3 separate regions of the Homo sapiens genome follow, and regions 1 and 2 are each linked to region 3. Evidence: promoter capture Hi-C in human tissues and cell types (Jung and others, 2019). All regions are on one chromosome and are shown on one strand. Each heading gives the region's core, a stretch centred on a gene start or on the middle of the fragment in contact. The rest is flanking DNA. Distances are from core to core; before and after follow the strand shown. Region 1 overlaps UFD1 (ubiquitin recognition factor in ER associated degradation 1). Region 2 overlaps HIRA (histone cell cycle regulator). Region 3 holds the start of DGCR8 (DGCR8 microprocessor complex subunit).

Region 1 (3,847 bases), core at 1,164-3,663, 620 kb before region 3:
TTTGGGAGGCCGAGGAGGGCAGATCACGAGGTCAGGCAAATGAGACCATCCTTGCTAACATGGTGAAGACCCGTCTCTACTAAAAAATACAAAAAATTAGCTGGGAGTGGTGGCAGGTGCCTGTAGTCCCAGCTATTCGGGAGGCTGAGGCAGGAGAATGGTGTGAACCCAGGAGGTGGAGCTTGCAGTAAGCTGAGATCGGGCCACTGCACTCCAGCCTGGGCAACAGAGCGAGACTCTGTGTCAAAAACAAACAAACAAACAAGCAAACAAACAAACTCCAGAAGCATAGAAATTAAAAGTGGCCCTATCTACTTTTTCCTGCATCATTTCAGGTTCTTTGCTTTTATCTAAAGTCTGTCTTGCTTTTTTTTTTTTTTTTTTTTCGAGATGGAGGCTCGCTCTGGCACCCAAGCTGGAGTGCAATGGTATGGTCTTGGCTCACTGCAACCTCCGCCTCCCGGGTTCCAGCGATTCTCTTGCCTCAGCCTCCCAAGTAACTGGGACTACAGGTGCGTGCCACCACACCCAGCTAATTTTTGTGTTTTTAGTAGAGATGGTGTTTCACTATGTTGGCCAGGCTGGTCTTGAACTCCTGACGTTGTGATCCACCCGCCTCAGCCTCCCAAAGTGCTGGGATTACAGGCATGGGCCACCATGCCCGGCCAGTATGTCTTGCTTTTACAACCATTTTAAAAAGTCTGGATAGTCCCACCATTTAAAAAAAAAACCTAAGCAGGGCCAAATCTACTTTTAAAAGTGTCATAATTATTGAATAGATAAGGAATAAAAAAAGGATCTGTCATTGTGTGGATATACTACCACTTATCCACTGAGCATCCGGCCTGTTTCCAATCATTTTGCTGTGTTAATGACACTACTATAAACATTCAAACATGTCTCCTAGGGCTTGGCTCATGCTTCTCTACCGTTTTCATGTTTTCAAAAGGCCACAAATAATCAGTGGGTCATAAAACCAACAGGGCTGCAAGCAGAACTGAAAAGGAAAGAATTGGAAGACAGTACCCTAGAAGTACTATTGCATTTAGTAAGGATAAATATTCCTGTGACATTTTCCATTTACTTTTATGTATTGGCATAATATTAAATACTTTTTTTTTAAACTATGGGACCAATTTTCTAGGTTGGTGCTCCTCAAACTACCTGGGAAGACCTAGTTTTTAAAAATGTGCAGTCTGCTGGACTGCCATGTGGTCCTCCTGCACAGAAGCAAGACACAACACACACCAGACGCCCAGAGCTCACCAAGACAAGTACTGGTTCTGTGGCCATGTGTGTGGAGGTTATGACAATGCCAAATTACTATACGTTTCTAAACATTCACTTTTGATTCCTGCTTCCTCGAGGCCCTGGCAACCACCATTCTTTTTTTTTTTTTTTTTCCCTTGAGGCAGGGTCTTGCTCAGTCCCCCAGGCTGGAGTGCAGTGCCTTGACCCTGGCTCACTGCAGACTCAACTGATCCTCCCGCCTCAGCCTCCTGAATAGCTGTAACTAGGCACATGCCACTACGCCCAGCTAATTTTAAAATTTTTTCATTAATTTTTTGTAGTGACAGGATCACACTATGTTACCCAGGCTACTCTCAAACTCCTGGGCTCAAACAATCCTCCAACCTTGGCCTCCCAAAGTGCTGGGATGCCAGGTGTGAACCACGGTGTCCAGGTGATTCTACTTTCTGTCTCCCATGAGTTTGACTACTCTAAGTACTCATGTAAGCGGAATGTAGTATTTGTCTGTCTGCATCTGGTTTATTTCACTGAGCAGAATGTTCATCCATGTGGTAGCATGTGTCAGAATTCCCTTCCTTTTTAATGTTGAATAATATTACATTGTATGTGTGTACCACATATTATTTACCCATTCATCTGCAATTTATTTTTGACTATGGTATGAGTTAGGAACTCAATTTGTTTTTTCATCTTAGGAATAGTCAATATCCCAGATTCCGCAACCCCAGTATCTCCTTTGCCTGGTGACATCAATGCTGCCTCAGTGGTGGACCAAGATTCTTTGTATATAAAGCTTTCTTCCACTGGCCTACTTGTCTACTCCAGAACCAATGCCATATGGTGTCTTAACTACTGGAGCTTTATTACACTCAGCTGCCGTATAGAATCTTCCTTATATATGACCAGATTCTTTTGTCAATATTTTATCTACAATCTATGTATCTGTATCAAGTGACAATGATCTGTAGTTTACCTTTCTCCTATCCTTGTGTGGTTTTGGTGATCAAGGTTATGCCGACCTCAGAGAATGAGTTGGGGGATATGTTCTTTCTCTATTTTTAGAATATCTAAGAGCAATTTATTGCTTGAGTGTGAGGAAGAACTTGCATATATAACCATCTGGGCCTGTGTTTCCTGGATTAAGATTTTTCTGATTGAATTACTTGACTGGCTATACAATTATTTAGGCTGTTTGTTTTTTTTTTTCTTTAGTCAAACTTCAATTACACTTTTCTCTAGGAAATAATTTATCAATGTCAAATAAGTTGGCTCATTTCTTAGTATAAAATTTTTCACAGTTTTATCTTTCAAGATATTTGCTTTATCTAATTCATTTTATTTGTTTTTAAACATTCAATATGCATGTAGACTTTTCAGGGTTTGCTTTTTTTTTGTTTGAGGCAAGGTCTTGCTTTATCACCTAGGCTAGAGTGCAGTGGCACGGTCACTGTTCACTGCAACTTCTGCCTCCCGGACTCAAGTGATCCTCCCACTTCAGCCTCCCAGGTAGCTGGGACTACAGGTGCATGCCACCATGCCCAGCTAATTTTTGTATTTTTTGTCGAGATGGGGTTTTGCCATGTTGCCCAGTCTGGTCTCAAACTCCTGGACTTAAGTGATCCACCCACCTCAGCCTCCCAAATTGCTGGGATTACAGGTGTGAGCTACCACACCCAGCTTCAGCTATCTTTTTTATTAACTTTATTGAATTGTAAACAGAGAACACTTTAATTCTAAACAACTCTCTCAAGAGAGTAAGTCTAGGCCAGGCGCGGTGGCTCACATCTATAATCCCAGCACTTTGGGAGGCTGAGGCTGATGGCTCACCTGAGGTCAGGAGTTCGAGACCAGCCTGGCCAACATGGTGAAACCTCGTCTCTACTAAAAATACAAAAGTAGCCGCAAGTGGTGGCACATGCCTGTAGTCCCAGCTACTCAGGTGGCTGAGATGAGACAGGAGAATTGCTCGAACCCAGGAGGTGGTAGCTGCAGTGAGCCAAGATCGCGCCACTGCACTCCAGCCAGGGTGAGACAAAGAGAGACTCTCTCAAAAAAAAAGAGAGTAAGTCTAAAGACTTACTCTTTTCCAACATTTTAGATGTCATTTTTTAAGCTTCATACATTAAACATTATTACTGCTTTATATGGCAACATTTACCCTGGATTCATATTTGCCAATTTATTTATTCCCTATTCCTTCTTGCTTTCCTTCTAGGATAATGCTTATTCCTAAAGTACATGCTTTTAAAATTCCATTGGTAAATAACCTCTCTCAGATTTGGTTCATCTGAAAATATTTTCACTTTGCCCTTATTCTTTAAGGAAGGTTTTGATGATAGTTACTTGATACTGGCTGTAACTGTTGCTATTCAAAGACCTGCTACTTGCTGTTCTTCTGAAGGTACTGTGTTTTCTCCCTGCTTACCTCTCTGTATTTGGTATTTTCTACCTGTAGCTTATTCTGTTTGTTATACATTATAAATTTCCTGTCATGATGGGCTGACCACCAATTCTAAATCAATTTCAGTTACCATCTCTTCAGATTATTGCAATTCCTCCATTCTTTCCTACTGGGATTGCAATGGGCATGTTTGAC
Region 2 (3,674 bases), core at 58-2,557, 650 kb before region 3:
CAATGTTCACAATCCCACTCACTTCTAGGTGTTGTTGCTGACTCTGGCAGGATGATAAAATGTGCTTTGCATAAATTTTTGGTCCCCAGGGCTCATTCCATACCTCTGGTTCATGTGCTAGACACTTCTGCAGTCCATAGGCAAACACCCCGGATGAACAGAACATGCTAGCAACCTCTGGGGAAAGGGAGGGGTCAAGCCAGACACAGAGCATCCTCTTCCTGGTCACCGACAGGACCCAAGATCAGCACAGTGGAAGCAGGTCTCCTACTTGGCTTCAGTGGTCAAGGCCAGACGCTCCTCAGAAGTCCCTCCCAGCTGTGTAACTATGATTCTGCTCATAAAGTGAAAATAGTTTTCAACCACTTCTTAGAGTAAAACAAATGTTTAAGAAAATCCCATTTCCTGGCCTTCATCCATATTCTTTCTGCAGCATATTAAAGAAATAAATTCAGAGAGAGGCTGGGAGCGGTGGCTCACACCTGTAATACCAGCACTTTGGGAGGCCGAGGCGGGTGGATCACCTGAGGTCAGGAGTTCGAGAGCAGCCAGGCCAACGTGGCGAAAATGTGTATTAAAAATACAAAAACACTAAATACCGAATACTAAAAATACAAAAATTAGCCAGGCGTGGTGGCATGTGCCTGTAATCCCAGCTACTCGGGAGGCTGAGGTAGGAGAATCACTTGAACCCGGGAGGTGGAGGTTGCAGTGAGCTGAGACCATGCCACTGCACTCCAGCCTGGCCTGGGTAACAGAGCGAGACTCTGTCTCAAAATAAATAAAGAAAATATATAAGTAAATAAATACATTCAGAGTGGCCCAAATCTACAGTCACCTGCCTACATGGCCAAGTCCCATTAATTCTACCTCTACCCTGTCTTTAGTGCCTCTCTATTTCTCACCTCCATCACCTGTGATCTCCCTGTCTCCCTGAGCATCTCACCAAGACTAGAAATTCCTAACTCCTCTAGGGCCTGCCTAAGACACAGGTTGGGTGTTTCATCCAGCTTCCTCAGAAGCCTCAATGTTCTCCTCTCTCCCCTAACCCCAAGAAGGAAGTTCAAGCTGCTGGCAAGGCTCTGCCTCCCAGCCCCATTCTCCCTCTTGCCCTGTTTAGCCTCCCTCCTAACATGTTCTATGTCTTTCCCTAAATGCTTTCACCCTCTGGGCCTTTTCTCCTGATGGTCTCATGTGCTGTAGCGCCTTCTCTGCCATCACAATTCTAGTCACGTCAAGGTTCAGTCCAAGGACACATCCACAAACCCGACTCTGCTGGTGAAGTGCCCTTCCTCCTTGGGCTATCACGCTTATTCCTCTAGCTCCTGTTTCCCCTGCCCTGCATTCTAGAATACGGTTTGTATGTCAATCTCTCTCATCTATCTTCCACACAGCTTTCTGTTCAGAGAGAGAGCCTTATTTACCTCTGGTCCCCACAGAACTCTTACCAGAAAGGTTCAATGTTTGTTGCATAAATCAGTGAAAAATCCACAGCAAAATCTCACCCAGTTTTCTTCTGACTCTTCAGATGTACTCTGGTTATTTTCCTAAATCAACCTACTGTCTTCAGGCATAAGTCAGGAGAGAAATTGCTGAGAGAATTTGCATTTTCTGAGCTACCACATGGAGCAGGTGAGGCAAGAATTACTGACTTCATGAACAGATTAGGAAGAGATGGAAAAACTTTTTATGTCACATATTTAGTAAGCAGCAGGGCACAGAGACTCCAGAGCAGGATATCTGATTCCAAAAACAGAAGACAAAATTCTTGTCCTCAAGAAACTTACAGTCTAGTCGGAACTGTAAGACAAATACACCAAAAGGCAAATAACTTATTCAGAGCGGGGTTTCTCACCCTTAGCACTATTGATATTTGGGGCTAGATAATTCTCCATGAGTGGGCTGTCCTGCATGCTATACGATGTTTAACAGATTTGTCCCCTACCCACTTGATACCAGTAGCACGTACCCTGCCCAACCCTGTTGTGACAACCACAAATGTCTCTAGACATTGCCCTGTAGAACCACTGATCTAAAGCAACTGCCATGTTTATCTCTCAACCACTGCAATCATATAACCTCACCATTAGGATCCTTTCCCTGCCAATTCTCAGACATAGGTCTGCAGTGCCCTCCGGCAGCAGGCTGGACCTTACCCACCCACTCCTAACTTTATCATTATATGATTCTGCCTACATTTTCCCTTCAAGCTGAATTATTTAATTTTCATGCTGATGTCTCAGTAGGACAGCTTCAAATCCTTTTCAGAATGACACAAGGTAGGGGTAAAAATAATCCAATCGCAGGACAGGAGAAAATACACACCATAAGGCCATGTGATTACCAGCAAATTACCCTGTTCTTGAAAATTTCCCAAATCCCTTTTCATAACACTGCCATCAAAGTGTGAACCAAAGGCCAAAGGTGGACAAGAGCTCTTTCAGTCCTGGCCCTCTTGGTTAGAACTGGCTTCACCAAAGAGCTGAGCATAAGCGCTGTCTGCCCAGGCATGAGAATTCCAGAAAAAACTCAGGAGCAAAGGCCCAGAGTTGGGAAGAGCCATGAATCTCAACGAGATTTTCTAAACATACAAACTCCATATTTCTACAAACTTTAAAACCAGAAACCTAGTTGTTTTTACTTTCTGACCTTAACCTAACTTAGAAATAAAGCTTATTTTGGTCAATTCTAAAATAAAATATATAGAGAATACTGTATCCAAGAACACGAAGTAAAATGTGTATGTATGAACAATAACTGACACATCTTCTATATAAATGATAGCTATTATATTTCAATTTAACAATCTTTTATATTTGGTCCCAGGATAAAATGGAAGAGGTAAGTCTTATTTTACCAAGGCCCAGAAGTAGAGTTATAAGTCCAAGAATTTACAGCTAGTAAATGATGCAGTTTTGAACCCAGTCTGATTCCACATTCAAGGCTCATTTCACTACAACGTGACAACTTCAAGATTAACTTATTGATAACCTTAGACAAGTGCTTCTCAATTGGGGGTGATTTTGGCTACCAATGGACATTGGCAATGACTGGAGATATTTTTGGTTGATACAACTAGAAGTTGTATCAACTTACTCTAAGAAGGTGTTTGTGAAGTGCTACTGGCATCTGGTGGGTAGAGGCCAAGGATACTAGAAACATTCTATAACATAGATGACAATCACACAATTTTATGGCCCAAAATGTCAACCTGCTGAAGTTGGGAAACCCTACCTTAGAGGTGTCTCTATTATCAGCCAAGAAAATGAAGACCAAAGTACACCCACATTTCAATAAATACTTCTTCTCCTGTTCTAGCTACCCTCTCCACTTTGAATGGATTCCCTGCCACACCAGAGAAAAATGCTGAGCTGTCTGCTACTTCCCCCTTTAGACTCTCGAAAAACAGAAAAAGTATGTTCATGCTGGGTGCAGTGGCTCACGCCTGTAGTCCCAGCTACTCAGGATGCTGAGGCAGGAAGATCCCTTGAGCCCAGGTATTTGAGTCTAGCCTGGGCAACACTGCAAGATCCCATTTCTATTAAAAAAAAAAGTTATGTTTGTGCTTCACAAAATTGGAGACATGAATATAGAACAAGGAAGCCAGAAAGTGCAATGATGGCTTTACAAAAGCAAGCACAATTTTACTGGCCACTACCCACCCCTCAGGCTTC
Region 3 (3,792 bases), core at 884-3,383:
TCTGCCTCCCAGGTTCAAGTGATTCTCCTGCCTTGGCCTCCCGAGTAGCTGGGACTACAGGCACGTGCCACCATGCCCAGCTAATTTTTTTTGTAGTTTTAGTAGAGACGAGGTTTCACCATCTTGGCCAGGATGGTCTTGATCTCTTGACCTCGTGACCCACCCGCCTCGGCCTCCCAAAGTGCTGGGATTACAGGCGTAAGCCACTGTGCCTGGCCTAATTTTTTTGTAGGGGGTTGGGGGCCGGGGACCGAGTCTCGTTCTGTTGCCCATGCTGGAGTGCAGTGGCTGGATCTTGGCTCACTGCAACTCCTGCCTCCCAGGTTCAAGCAATTCTCCAGCTTCAGCCTCCGTAGCTGGGACAACAGGCACCTGCCACCAAGCCCTGCTATTTTTTTTTGTATTTATAGTAGAGACAGGGTTTCACCATGTTGGTCAGGCTGGTCTCGAACTCCTAACCTCAAGTGATCCGCCCGCCTCGGCCTCCCAAAGTGCTGGGATTACACGCATGAGCCACTGTGCCTGGCCTTGCTCACTATTTTTTCTGGAGACGGTCTCGTTCTGTCACCCAGGTTGGAGTGCAGTGGCCCGATCTCAGATCATTGCAACCTCCACCTCCCGGGTTCAAGCGATTCTCCTGCCTCAGCCTCCCGAGTAGCTGGGATTACAGGTGCCTGCTACCACGCCTGGCTACTTTTTGTATTTTCAGTAGAGATAAGGTTTCGCCACGTTGCCCAAGCTGGTGTGGAACTCTTGAGCTCAGGTGATCCGCCTGCTTCGGCCTCCCAAAGTACTGGGGTTACAGGCGTGAGCCACAGGGCCCGGCCCACTATTTTTATCACTCAAGATTTTCGTCTACAGCAGCTATTATTGGGGTGGCTACCCAGTGGAAAATTTTTCTATTTCCACTATTCCTTCCACATTTATTGACAGGAAAGCTAGTCTAAGGAAGAGCTGTACCCTCACTTACTCAGACCCTCGTTTTCCTTTTTTTTTTTTTTTTTTTTGAGACGGAGTCTCACTCTGCCGCCCAGGCTAGAGTGAAAGTGGTGCTATCTCGGATCACTGCAGCCTGGAACTCCTGGACTCAGGTGATCCTTCCACCTCAGCCTCCCGAGTAGCTCGGACCACAGGCGCCCGCCACCACGCGGCTAATTAAAAATAATTTTGGGCCCGGCGCGGTGGCTCATGCCTGTAATCCCAGCACTTTGGGAGGCCGAGGCGGGCAGATCAATTGAGGCCAGGAGTTTGATACCAGCCTGGCCAACATGGTGAAACCCCGTCTCTACCAAAAATATAAAAATTAGCCGGGCGTGGTGGTGGGCGCCTGTAATCCCAGTTACTCGGGTGGGTGAGCCAGGAGAATCGCTTGAATCCGGGAGGCAAAGGTTGCAGTGAGCTGAGATCGCGCCACTGCACCCCAGCCTGGGAGACAAAGCGAGACACCGCCTCAAAAAAAAAAAAAAAAAGAAAGAAAATTTGTAGATACTGGGCTCTCACTATGTTAGCCAGGCTGGTCTCGAACTCCTGGGCTCAAGTAATCCTCCTGACTCGACCTCCCAAAACTCTGGGATTACAGGCGCAAGCCACCGTGCCCGGCCGAACCACCGTGCCCGGCCGAACCCTCCCTGTTTTGGAAATCCTGTATTAGCAAAGGGGACAGCGCCAGACAGTTGAGCACACGCGTTCTTTATAAATGATGATGTCTGATACAGTGATGCTTTTAACAGGGTTGTGTAACGCCTGTGTGTGCACGGTCTCTTCTGCAGTGTCCACCGAAGGTGGCCCGTCTGCGTGTCCGCTCCCGGCGTACTCCGCGCTCCCTGTTCCCGGCATTCCCCGCGCTCCCCGAGCTTCCCGCGCTCCCCTGCTCCCGGCATTCCCGGTGCTTCCCGTTCCCGGCGCTCCTCGCGGCCGCCGCCCTCAGTCCAGCGAGCCCCGCCTGGGCAGCGACTGTTAGCGCGACCGCGGCCTGGGCGCCTGGTCCCTCCCGCGCGGCCGCGCTATTGGGCCGCGCGCGGCGGACACACGCGCTACGCGCCGCCGATTGGCGGCCTCCGCAGCGCGCTCTGCGGCTCCCCCAATGCGGGGCGGCCGCGCGCGGGGATTGGCCGCACGCCGCGAAGGCCCGCCCTCCGCTCGCCCGGCGCGGCAGGCGGGTGCCGGCGACCGGAGAGCCTGGACAGGCTTTCCAGATGGCTGCGGCGGTCGGTCGGTGAGGCTTTCCCGGCTGTGGTTTGGCTGCGGGCGGCTTGGGCAGCCCGCGGGCGCCTCAGGTAGGTGCGGGGCGCGAGGGGCGCCCGCGGGCGGTTGGGCGGGCGCCGCGGCCTGCGCGAGGGCGCGCCCTTCCCTCCCGCCTCCCTCCGGGACCGAGGCCGCGGGCGGGGCGGGGGCGCGGAGCCCGGCCTTTGTGAGGCAACATGGCCGCGGGCGGTGGAGAGCGCGGGGTGGGGACGCCTCCGGGGCTGGGGGGCGGGCCCCGGGCCCAGGCGTTGCCGACTCTCGTCGCTGTCCGCCCGGGTAAAGAGGCTCCTCTCCCGGAGGGCCCGAAGCCTAGCATCGCCTTCAGGCGGGAAAGGTGTGGACAGGGCCAGTGCTCGCCTGGGACCCTGCCGGCTTTAACACAGTTTGGGAAATCCAAGAAGTCGCCTAAGTCTTTTTGTCCACAGAATGCTCACGGGTTGAGTGTCACGTAGATAATTGGGATACGGTTTTATTGTAACAATGAGCATGGCGGAAATAAATGGAAGGTGGCAACCTGTTGACAGTGATGCCTGTCTGGTGTCAACCGATGGACTTGGGTTTCTTGTGGCAGGAGTCTGATTTGCCTTTTTGCATGCTTGCATGTACCTTGTTCCTGCACGGCAGTCCTGTCTTTGGCTGTCGACTGTTCGAGGCCAACCACCAGGCGAGGATCCACTGTTTCCTGGCCAGACTAGACTCCCAGCTGTGGGAGTGGCCCAAACCCTGCTGCAGGCCTTCACTCACAAAAGGGAGTGAATGGCCAGCCCGGGGTACCCAGTGTTGCCTCTAAGTGCGGGATATGAGGCCTGTTGGAGGATGACAAAAGGAACGGATGAGGTCATACTGCCGCTGGGTTGGGCGGGAGGCTGCAGCGGGAGAGACTTGACCAAAAGGCAGCCTCCATGGCGCTGGCACTGGTGCTGGCCCGTCACAGCCAGTGCCTCTGTTAGCCAACACAGCAAGTGGGCTAGGAGGAAGGGTGCTGTCCAAGTGTACGGGTTTTCTCCCCGTGCCAAGGGTCCAGGGGAGCTTGCCGTGAGCCCGTTCCTGTCCGATAGTCCTGTTGGCAAGGCAGGGTTTGCATGCGGTGTTTGGTCAGCTGGAGCAGTGGGGAGGCCTACGGGCAGAGAGCTCCCCTTTGAGCCCTTTGCGGCCAGGCGCTGTGTGGAGCACTTCCCAGGGGTTGTTTTGTAGTCTCACCGTGACCTTGGGGTAGGAAATGTGCTTCTGGCTGGCTTGCCCAGTCTTAGACTCTCTTGTTGTAGCCCTCTCCTTTGTGATGTCACCCAGCCTCCTGACTTTAATGCCAGCTTTCCTTGACATCTTCACAGCTCCAGCCCTGGCCTCTCTTCTGATTTCCAGCCTGGTGTTTCTGGCCACCTCTTCCATATCTCCATGTGTTACTTTGGCGCCAAGTAGCCATATCCAAACCAAACTCAAATCTTCACCCATGCCAAAACATTCCTTGGCCTATCTAAAGTCCCTTTGATTCCTCTCTTTCTTACACCTTCATGCAGTCCTAAGGAGGCCCCGTCAGCTCACCTATTT

The links. The method cuts DNA at HindIII sites, captures the fragments that hold promoters and counts their contacts. A contact is called where the count stands out against the background at its distance.
Region 1: a fragment that was not itself captured here is called in contact with the fragment with the promoter of DGCR8 in region 3 in 1 of the 25 tissues and cell types used here (dorsolateral prefrontal cortex).
Region 2: a fragment that was not itself captured here is called in contact with the fragment with the promoter of DGCR8 in region 3 in 1 of the 25 tissues and cell types used here (dorsolateral prefrontal cortex).

What each region holds. Positions count from the first base shown.
Region 1 is chr22:19,459,370-19,463,216 of GRCh38, forward strand. All of the region lies in intron 6 of UFD1 (ubiquitin recognition factor in ER associated degradation 1), which reads right to left. Among named protein-coding and RNA genes, the nearest start is that of C22orf39, 14 kb to the left of the region's middle. The HindIII fragment of the contact is 3,163 bases long and covers 833-3,847 here.
Region 2 is chr22:19,425,242-19,428,915 of GRCh38, forward strand. All of the region lies in intron 1 of HIRA (histone cell cycle regulator), which reads right to left. Among named protein-coding and RNA genes, the nearest start is that of HIRA, 4.7 kb to the right of the region's middle. The HindIII fragment of the contact is 8,909 bases long and covers 1-3,674 here.
Region 3 is chr22:20,078,108-20,081,899 of GRCh38, forward strand. It overlaps DGCR8 (DGCR8 microprocessor complex subunit), which reads left to right and starts at 2,134. Exons shown (of 14, transcript NM_022720.7): 1 at 2,134-2,276. RefSeq lists a silencer at 2,013-2,632 and an enhancer at 2,893-2,952. The HindIII fragment of the contact is 8,782 bases long and covers 1-3,792 here.